2 separate regions of the Homo sapiens genome follow, and region 2 is linked to region 1. The links are contacts of gene promoters, found by promoter capture Hi-C in blood cells and fetal thymus (Javierre and others, 2016). All regions are on one chromosome and are shown on one strand. The core of a region is centred on a gene start or on the middle of the fragment in contact, and the rest is flanking DNA. Distances in the headings are between cores, read along the strand shown.

Evidence for each region. Contacts are between HindIII fragments. The CHiCAGO score rates a contact against its expected background, and 5 or more counts as called.
Region 2: the fragment with the promoter of TMEM165 here is called in contact with the fragment with the promoter of SCFD2 in region 1 in 1 of 17 cell types (naive CD8 T cells); the score reaches 7.1 in naive CD8 T cells.

What each region holds. Positions count from the first base shown.
Region 1 is chr4:53,363,714-53,369,271 of GRCh38, reverse strand. SCFD2 (sec1 family domain containing 2) reads left to right here and starts at 3,211. Exons shown (of 9, transcript NM_152540.4): 1 at 3,211-4,168. The coding sequence starts at 3,331. RefSeq lists enhancers at 3,246-3,295, 3,316-3,515, 3,736-3,785. The HindIII fragment of the contact is 6,997 bases long and covers 2,531-5,558 here.
Region 2 is chr4:55,393,671-55,399,022 of GRCh38, reverse strand. TMEM165 (transmembrane protein 165) reads right to left here and starts at 3,066. Exons shown (of 6, transcript NM_018475.5): 1 at 2,627-3,066. The coding sequence starts at 2,833. RefSeq lists an enhancer at 841-890 and silencers at 2,391-2,860, 3,061-3,260. The HindIII fragment of the contact is 4,477 bases long and covers 52-4,528 here.

The DNA of each region.
Region 1 (5,558 bases), core at 1,962-4,461:
ATGCAGGTGTTAGTAACTAGGCACTGACCTGGGTTTAAATGGAAGAGCAAGGGCTGTCATCCAACAACTTATTCAACTTAAGCTCCTTAAAATAATTTTCATGCTGACAAGGATACAAACATGTAGGAATATCTTCTTGTTTACTAGTTCAACATTTGAACTTGGGTCTGTCATTGGCCCTTTTACCTACTAGGTTCTACCAGGTTTATGACTCTTCTGCTGCATATTCAAGGTGCCATTATTCACAATAGCTAAAAGGTGGAAGCAGACCAAATGTCCATAGGCAGATGAATGGATAAACAAAATGGTGTAACATACAATGGAATGTTATTCAGCCTCAAAAAGAAAGAAAATTCTGATGCACGTTACAATATAGATTAACTTGGAGGACTTTATGCTAAGTGAAATAAGTCAATCACAACAAAACAAATACTGTATTGTTCCACTTATATGAGGTATCTAGAGTAGTCAACTACTACATTGCCAACAACTAGAGTAGTCAACTCATAGAAACAGAAAGTAGAGTGGAAGTCACCAAGGACTGTGGAGAGGGGGAATGGGGAGTTGTTGTTTAATGGGTACAGGGTTTCAGTTTTGTGAGACAAGAAGTTCAGAGATTGGTTATACAACAATGTGAATGTACTTAATGCCACCAAAATGTACATTTTACAATGGTTAAGATGGTGTGACTTTTATGTTACACTTATCTTGCCATAAGGAAACAAACAAACAAAAATATGTCCCCACTAAACTCTGTATTTATTCCGCAATCTGCTTCTCTTAATGGTTTTTCAAATCTCAATGACTGGCATTCATCAGTCATCCAGACAGAAAGCTGGGTGCTAACCTGAAATTCTCCTTCCGTGTCACCCTCTCTGTCAAACTAATAAGCAAGCCCTTTGGCACTATATTCTTAACGTCTATTCATACTCCCCACTCTGTCCATCTGCTTGTTACGCTTTTCAACTCTCTCACCCAGATTTGCTGCTGATACTATTATTTTCTTAACTGCTCCCTCTGCGCTAAATTGCTCCATTTCAAATTATTTTCCATGTTTTGACTAGAACCATTTTTTTTCTAAAATCCAGATGTGAACAAATTATTTCCATACCCCAAAATACATTAATACTTCCCCACTGGCTGCTACTACTTAGAATGGAAAATAAGGCTCTTGCTGATCTAGCCCATTTCTTTCTTTTCTAATTCCTTGCTCTTATTTCTTCTTGCGCCTTTTTTCATACAATGCACTCCAGCTATAGGAAACCCTTTGTAGTTCCAGAGAACATATTGTACTGTTTTATGCCTCTACGACTTTGTTTATGCTGCACTCTGTGCCTGGACTGCTAAGAATCCTCCTCCCCATCCTGTCCACCTGGTGAACACCTGGGTTTCTTTGAAGGCAAGTCAAAACTCATGCCCTATATGAAGCTTTTTCTGACTTCTTCCTTTTTCTCTTAGAATTTATTTTTCCTCCTTCTTGACTCCTATACAAAAAATTTTAAAAAGTATTTGCTTCTGTAACATTTTATTGCACTTGTTTTACATGTGTGGGTCCCTTTATTTCATCATAATTATTTTGAAATCAGGGCTGTGGTTTAGTTTTCTTTATATCCTTAAAACCCAGACAGTGTTTGGAATACTGTACGTATTTATTAAAAATTGGCTGGATATATTATTATGTGGAATTTTTTTTTTTTTTGAGACAGAGTCTCGCTCTGTCGCCCAGGCTGGAGTGCAGTGGTGCCATCTTGGCTCACTGCAACCTCTCCCTCCTGGGTTCAAGTGATTCTCCTGCCTCAACCTCCCGAGTAGCTGGGATTACAGGTACCTGCCACCATGTCCAGCTATTTTTTGTACTTTTAGTAGAGACGGAGCTTCACCATGTTGGCCAAGCTGGTCTTGAGCCCCTGACCTCAGGTGATCTGCCCACCTCGGCCTCCCAAAGTGTTGGGATTACAGGCATGAGCCACCGCGCCTGGCCATGGATATTAATTGAACATTCATTCAACGAACATTTATTGAACACCTGTTATAAGTGTTGGGGATACCAAGCATCTAGTGCATAATTTAGCAAAACAGATAGTTTAAAGAAAATAGTGTTAATACTTACCCCATGATATGGCAAGTACTTAGCGAATGTATCAATTGAGTGGTTTGATAGGTGGGGGAAGTGAGAGGTGATAGGGTGATAGTGGTGGTGAGTTAGAAAAAGTCTCTCACAGGCAGTACTGTTGGAATGATTATTTTCGGTAAGTTTACCAGGTAAATTCTTTGTGGATTAGGTAATGAATTTTATTAACCATTGCATCTTTGAAGCTTAGCACAGAGATTATACTTAGTAATGTAAGTATATTGGTGGAACAAACAGAACCCATAAAACATTTTGGGTTCAGCCTATTGACTTCATTGTATCGGTACAATTTTTCTCCATGTTGGGAATAGCTGGAGAGAAATTGAGAAATCAAGAAGGATGTTGATGCTTTTTAAAGAGTGTGGATGTATCCTATAGGCAACTGGGCTAGGAGAAGCTTTTAAGCAGGAAAGTTGTAGGACCAACTTTGTTTATTAGGAAGAAAATAGAATTGGAGGGTAAAGAGATCAAAAGTCAGAAAATGTTGGGAGATCATTGCCTGGGTGAGCGATGATGTTGGGTTTTTGTGACAGCAAAAATGGAGAGGAAGGGCTGAATTCTGAGAGTTTTTAAGCCTATAAGATGTAGTGACGATGAGATGAGGGAGGAAAGATGGAGAAAGTGAAAATGAGAACAACAGGGTTTGTTATGAGGCTTGTGGGCGATAACGTATGTGACAGCAATCTATAAACCCAAAATATTGCACACGGTTGTTTTTATTATCTTTTTCTAGTTGCTCTGAGTTTAGATTGAGAAGGTGGCTGTACTTTTGGAGACGTGTTCATATCTAAGGAAGATACCAAATTTCGGATTAGGTTTTTATTTCGGAGACTTTTCAAGGAACATGAGAAGATTATCTGAGAAGATTATCTGCGCAGACAGGCCGAGCGACGGAAAGAACTCAGTTCAGCTCCATCTCAGGAAACACCTGATCTCCACGAGCTTTTGAGGAAGCCCGGAGCCACAGAGCCCCACCCACTTCTTTCCCGACCGCGCCATCCTTCCTCACTCCCGGCCTCCTCTCTAGCCAATCACCGCTCAGTTTAACGTCATCACCGAGCGCCATCAGGGAGCGTGTCAGAGGCCGACCACGTGTACTGTGGAGACTGTCAAAGTCTCCCGGAGCCCAATTTCCGGAAGCGGTGAGTTCTGAAAGAAGTTCCTGCACCGTAGTTTCCCAAGTCTGCGAATCCCCAACCATGAGCGCCTCGGGCGTACTGTCCTTTACCCAGCAAGGATGGGAGCAGGTGCTGGCCAAAGTGAAACGGGCTGTGGTTTACCTGGACGCCGCCTGCGCCGAGAGCCTGCACTGGGGCTGCGGATCCACCCGTCTCCTGGAGGCGGTGGGGGGTCCTGACTGTCACCTGCGAGAGTTCGAGCCCGACGCAATTGGTGGTGGAGCCAAGCAGCCCAAGGCAGTGTTTGTGCTGAGCTGCCTGCTGAAAGGCCGGACCGTGGAGATCCTACGGGACATCATCTGCCGCAGTCACTTCCAGTATTGTGTGGTGGTCACAACCGTGAGCCACGCTGTCCACCTCACAGCTAATCATGTCCCAGCGGCGGCAGCGGCCGAGATGGAGGGGCAGCAGCCGGTGTTCGAGCAGCTGGAGGAGAAGCTGTGTGAATGGATGGGCAACATGAACTACACGGCCGAGGTGTTCCATGTCCCGTTATTGCTTGCCCCTGTTGCTCCCCACTTTGCCTTGACTCCAGCTTTTGCATCCCTTTTCCCACTGCTACCCCAGGATGTGCACCTCCTTAATAGCGCCCGACCGGACAAGAGGAAGCTGGGAAGCCTGGGTGATGTGGACTCCACTACGCTAACCCCAGAGCTGCTGCTGCAGATCAGATGCCTAGTGTCAGGCCTCAGTTCTCTGTGTGAACATTTAGGAGTACGGGAGGAGTGTTTTGCTGTAGGTTCCTTAAGTCAGGTCATCGCTGCGGATCTGGCCAATTATGCCCCTGCAAAGAACAGGAAGAAGACTGCTGCAGGCAGGGCATCAGTGGTTTTTGTGGACAGAACCCTGGATCTCACAGGTAAGTGCATTGCTCTGGAGTTCTTCATTACCATTCCCCACATTGCTGGGACTTTCATTGATTCAGCATATATTTTATTGACCTTTTATTATATATTAGATTGAGGATACAAAGATGAACTAGATGGACACGGTCTCTAATCTCACAGAGTTTATTGTCTAAAGTGGAATACAGACAGGTGAATTAGCAATTACAATAACATTTGTTAAATGCTGTAATGGGTAGAAATGTCATAAATGCCCATTGCCTTGTTAAACAACAACTTTAGCCCAAGATTATGCTGACAGGGAGGAAAACTGTGCACCTGGGAAATTTTATTTTTAGAAATTTACGAATGCCAGTATTCACAACAGTCCTTCATAAGAAGACTCTGGTTTGTTGGAGAAGTGTTAATAGATGACCCAGCGGAAGGAAAACTACTGCACAAGAAAACATAAAATTATTACAGACAATTGAGGTTTAGGAAATGAGTGTTCAAAAGTGAGGCTGAACTTAAATGTTACTAGTAAATGAGATGAAATAGAATTGTAGAAAATATTTTCAAATGTTTATTGATTTATTTTTAGCTCTCATTGTATTAAAGATTAAGTAAATAATCTCAAATTGTAATAATGTATTATTTACACAAAAGAAACAAATGTAATCCTTAAAGCAGATGAAGAAAAGACACTTTCTGATGTTTGATATGTTATTTTCAAAGGTCAACTTTATTGTTCTCTAATTAGGTTGTATAATACTGTTAGTAATATAGCCTAGCCACTTCCAAGTCCAGGGAGAATAATCGGAAAACTGACATTGGTAGGCATTCCCTTTAATCGGTCAGAAAAAAAGTTGAATTAAGTTATAAAAAACGAAATAGGTATATTTGAGTTTTTAATCTTAATAAGATTAATTTTCAGATAAAAAATGGAAAGTAGGCTAAATGGTAATACTGAGATGTAAACTTAATTATGTGACTGGAAAAACCAGGTGTCCAGTCTGTGATTTAAATATATAAGTAATAACTGTAGCATCACAGAGTCCATAGGGGATTAAAAGATAAAACCTGATAAGTAGATGCTTGTTGAGTTTTTTTGTGGATGCTATATATTACTGTTACTTCTATCTCTTTATGCCAAAAATGTAGCAAAGTTGTTTCATAATCAACTGGGAAGTTCACATAATTTTGTACCCTCCCCTAAGACTTCTGTTAGGCAAAACTTAATATCCCACTGTCCAGCATCATAGTAACAGCTCTTTACATCTTCAGTAGGTAATGCTTTTTTTTTTTTTTTTTTGAGACGGAGTCTCTCTCTGTCGCCCAGGCTGGAGTGCAATGGCGCAATCTCGCGAGGCTCACTGCAAGCTCCGCCTCCCGGGTTCACGCCATTCTCCTGCCTCAACCTCCCGA
Region 2 (5,352 bases), core at 1,817-4,316, 2.0 Mb before region 1:
AATCCAATAATGGTTACAAAATCACATTATATCCAGCAGATGATAAAAGCTTAGTTCTCTTAATTCCATCTGGTGGATCCCTTGCAACTTAAAAAAAAAAGGTTGGATAGACACTATTAAAAATCGGGTTGTTGTTTTTTTTTTTTTTTCCTGGTTGAGTTTATTTTACAGCCAGTTTTTCCAGAAAGGTATTTAACAGCTGATATAAACTTGACATGCAACTACTTCAACCCAGTCTTAGAAAATTAGTTAATAAATGCCAAGAACAGACAAGGTCTTCTGGAATAGACAGATGAGTAAGCCAGAGTCATGCTCTCAAGACACCTAAAAGCTAGTAGGGGCAGATAAAACACGCACACAACTTGCAAGAACCCAAGGCAGCAAGATGTGTGTGTAAACATGCCACAACATACACAATAAAGTTCCCAAAAAAGGAGAAAGAGAAAGCTAGGCTCAAGATCAAAGAACTGCACCAGCATACAATCCAATAAACCATTAAAATCCATTAGTGAATTAAATAAGTCAAAAGAGTAAGACACAATGAATGCTAATAAAACTTAGTAAGGCACAGAAGTCCAGATTCTAATTCTGGTTCTGCTGAAACTAGCTTCTAGCTCTGTGATATTAAACCACTATTCCTTACAAACCTCCTCTACCTGTTTAACGTGCTGTTGTGAGGATTAAATCGGCTCCCAGAATCTTCACTTCCCAGTAACTTTATCTCCCAGATTCCCTCCCATATCAGAATCTCCTCATAGGCAGTTAGTTATTCAACTTCTTCCTGAGTACTTCCAGTAAGGGGAACTTCATTATTTCTCAATAGCGATTACTACATCTGGGACAGCACTGATTCTTACAAATGTTCTTGCTTAGTGAAACCAAGATCAGTCTCTCAGAAAGTTCTATCCTACGGTCTTACACAGAAAAACAACAGAAAATTGGAAAAGCCTAAGAAAGTAACATGTAACGAAAACATGAAACACGAAAACAATGCACCGGTGTGAGAGCTCACCAGCACTTGGGAGGCCAAGGCCGGAGAAGCGCTTGAGCCCAGGAGTTTGAGACTAGACTCGGCAACATAGTGAGACCTCCTCTCTCAAAAAAAAAAAAAATAAACAAAAATTAGCCGGGCGTGTCAGCACACGCATGCAGTCCCAGCCACTCAGGAGGCTGAGGTGGGAGGATCAATTAGAGGTTGCAGTGAGCCAAGACGGGGCCACTGCACTCCAGCCTGGGCGACAGAGCGAGACCCTGTCTCAACAAAGAAAAAGGAAAAAGGAAAGGAAGGGAGAAAGGAAAGGAAAAAGGAAAGGAAAGGAGAAATGAAAGGAATGGAAAGGAAAAAGGAGAAAGGAGAGGAAAGGAAAAAGGAGAAAGGAGAGGAAAGGAAAGGAAAGGAAAGGGTCAGATAAATCACCCTTAACCAAGAAATTTTAGGGAAGTCTTCACAGAGAGTAGGTATCTGCTGGTTCTCCAAGGTGGGAAGAGTTGATCCGTGGCTTCAAACTCCAGGTCTTTTTTTTTTTTTCTTTGAAAAGGTCTTGTGTTAGGGAGGAACTGGCAAGAGAGCACAAAGCCTGTCCCAAAGGGCTCTTGAAGCACATTCTTTTTTGCAGATGAGCATATCCCTTTAGCATATGAGCAAGAAAGCGGTGGCTAAAAAGCCTGGAGGTGAGCTGGAGCCAGATCAGAAGAAACCTGAACATCACTCTCCTAAAAAGGCTGGACTGAAATTAGTGGAGGCAACTCACCGACGACTTCTGACAAGATGGCAGAATTCAATGTTCGGGAAGATTAGTTACGTGGAGATGGGCTGGATGTGGCCTGGGTGGGAGTGGGGGTTTGAGTGCCACACTGGCCGGGATTCAGGGAGCAGATACTGGAAATGACGACAAAGCCCACGACTGGGAGAAGGGAGAAATGTTAAAACGCTGCCAAGTGACTAAGGACTAATTCTATTAACAGATTAAAAAGTTGATTTCTAGTATCTATTCAGGGAAGGACAAAATACAGGATTCTGTTTTACTTATAAATGTAGTTTTGGCATCCCACATCGCTGCAGCACGCTGTACTGCCGGAGACTAATTCCTCTGCGTTCCTAAAGGCTACTTCCTGCTAGCCAAAGCACATTTTTAAAAAGTGAGAGTCATGGTTCATAATCCATATTTGGCAAAAAGCACAGGCAGTGCCAAGTTGAATTTGGGTAAGCAGTTTGGCATAAGCTATTTCAACAATGAAATGGCCGATGTGATGATCCTCAGGGAATACAAAAAGCCTCCTAGCAGCCTTCTGTTAAAAACTTTTTGGTAGGGATGAGTCTTTCTAGCTACTCTAAGACACATCTGATCAATAAAACGCCCATCCCGGAGCAGCATCTTGGCCCTCCGGAGATCAACGTTTATAGCGGGCTCCTCTTGGACTCTCCCTCTCCCTTTCCCTAAAGGAGCGGGCAAGACCAGGCCTCACCGGAAAACAGCGCAGCCGACCGCCCTCCACCCCGGGAGCAGGGGCCGGGCTCCCCTCCCCCAGCCGAGGCCGGCGGAGTGCGGCGCTTTCAAAGGCCTGGAGCCTGGTACTCGGCGCAGCCGGCCCTGCAGCCTCGCTCGCCCCATCCCGGCCCGCTCACCTCGACCCGGGCCGGCTCGGGGCCCTGCACAGCCACAGGCTGCGGCTGCAGCTGCTGGGCCGGCGCCGGCGGTTCTTTGTTCCGGTGGCTAAGGTCTTCATCTGGGCCGGCCCGGACCGCAGCCGGGGCCCACAGCAGCGGAACCAGAAAGAGCAGAAGCAGCCGGGGCGCCGATGCGCGGCCGTTCCCTGGAGCCGCGGCCGCCATCCCGCCTGCCGGGCCGGCCGCGCACGGGCGCCGCAAGAGGAAGTGCCGGCGACGGGAAGCCTCGACCCCGAACAGCCTCCGCGGCGCGTCCTCACGACTCGCCGCCGCCGCCGCTTAGGGAGCAGTCAGCACCATCCGGGAGGTGCAAGCAGCGGGAGTGAGGTGAGGGGCAGGCCGAAGTCCGCAGCCCCGGCTCGGCGCCCGTCCTCTCCGGCGGCGGCTAAACTGGAGTCAGCCAGCTGCCTCGGCGCGGCCCAGCCCCGACTCCTCCCGGCCCCGTCCCTGCCCGCGACGGCCTCCCATTGGCCCGGCGACCGCCTTGGCGTCGTGACGTCCTCTGCCAGGTTGAGGTGCGGCGCGGGCCCTCCTCCCATTGGATCCGGCGCTCCCGGCAGGTACCCGGCGCCGCGTGTCCTTCCTCTGCTCGCATCCTCACCGCGCCGCGCCCGGGGCTCCCTTTCTCTCTCTGTGCCCCACCGTCCCAGGACTGCGAGGTCCTTCACTTCTGCTTCCTCCAGAGCCTTCCGCCGTAATGTCCGCACCCGCTGTTCCCTGCGCTTAGTCTCTCTTAGAGGTCAAATTAGTGCGAGCGCCTCTGGTTACGTGGCGCTGACTCGCAGGCACTGCCACGCCCAGCTCTGTTCCGCTCTCCCCCGCCGAGCCTCTGTGCCACCCTCCATGTGGCCACCTACCGCCAAAAACGTTCTTAGGAGCTCAAAATGCTATTTTTTTTTTAAAGTTCTGAAATGGGATTTGGAAATAACATGACATTTTTCAAGCCTTGTTTTAAGATACTGCCTATAATTACCCCAGACCAAAAATGGCTAACGTTGCCCTTGTCCAGTATGGCCTTGACGTTTTGGGTGCATCTTGTTTTGTGCTATTCCTTAGACCCTTTAAAAATGCTGGGCTTTTGAAATGGACTGTTTAAGACTTTTGCAGGATGGAGCTTTGAGTGGGCAAGACTAGAAGACAGGAAAGGATGGTCTTGAGTTAGGCTTGAGAATATTTTTACGTCTTCCCAAAAGAAAAAGTGAGCTACTTAATTACCATAAGTTTGAGACCTAGTCCCTAATAAAAATCGATAGTGCTAACCATGTGCCAGGCACTAATCTAATATTATACATATTTACATACAGTAAACCTGTACTCAGTAAAGAGCTAAGGAAGTTTATCACTAACTGAAACAAAAAATTAATCCACCAAAACAATCTGTGGGAAAGTGGGCAAACCTACTTTGAGTTCACCAAAGATACAGTGTTTGTCACAGGATAATAAAATTTCCGTCTGTTTTTTTGTTTTGTTGTTTTCTTTGTTTTTGTTTTTGAGACGGAGTTTCGCGCTTGTTGCTCAGGATGGAGTGCAATGGTGAGATCTCGGCCCACTGCAACCTCCTCCTCCCGGGTACAAGAGATTCTCCTGCCTCAGCTTCCCGAGTAGCTGGGATTACAGGCATGCTCCACCATACGCGGCTAACTTTGTAATTTTAGTAGAGATGGGGTTTCTCCATGTTGGTCAGGCTGGTCTCGAACTCCAGACCTCAGGTGATCTGCCGGCCTCGTCCTCTCAAAGTGCTGGGATTACAGGTGTGAGCCACCGCGGCCGGCCTCCGTCCATGTTATTCTGTCCGTAATTCCCCTTCTTCCATTCTCTCCTTGTAAACTCCTACTCATACTTCCAAAACCTATTCAAGCTTCCACTCTCAGAACTTTTCCCCAACACATGGCGTTACAGAATTTGTCACTTGTTCCTTCATGTTATTGCTTTATGCATTCTTCTATTACTGTGTAAGTAGGATGCCTCCACTTACAGTTTGGGGTGTGTTAAAAGAAAAACCTTAGACAAATTAAACTTAACAGCGTTTAATCAAGCAAAGAACCCAAAGAATGATCTGCAAATCAAAAAGACCCCAAATCAAAGTAAGTTCAGAGAGGCTCCAGTCTTGCCGAGTGGTCGGAAAAAATAAAGTGACTTACAGAAAACATAATTGAGGGACAGAAACAGCTGGATTGGTTGTAGCTCAGGTTTGCCCTATTTGAACACGGTTTGAACAGTTGGCCACTTGTGATTGGCCAGAACTCTGTGATTGGTACAAGAATAGGTTACAGTCTGTTTACATACCCAATTAGGCTACAGTTCACCATGTATGGGGAAACCTTTAGGCCTAACTTAAAATATGTAAGGAGGCAGCTTTACACTAAATTTAACAGATGCAACTATCATCCCTGGAGTGCAAATGTTTGAGCTTTCAGAAGCCAGTAATAACATAAAACCCAGAAGCCCAAACTTCAACTACCTCCCCTTAATGCATACAGGATTTGCTGTGCTTAAAAGGGGCCTGAAAGGGAGGCTTGAGGTCCCAAGGGAGGGACCTGAAAGGAGCAGCTTAGGCTGAAGACAGAGCCAGAAGGGTGAATGTAGCAAAACTGGCTGTGTGTCCCTCATTGCTGAAAGCTGCTTTGTTTATTTTCTAGGATGGGCTGCCCACACTCCAGGGCTTTCTCACAGGAAGGACTCCT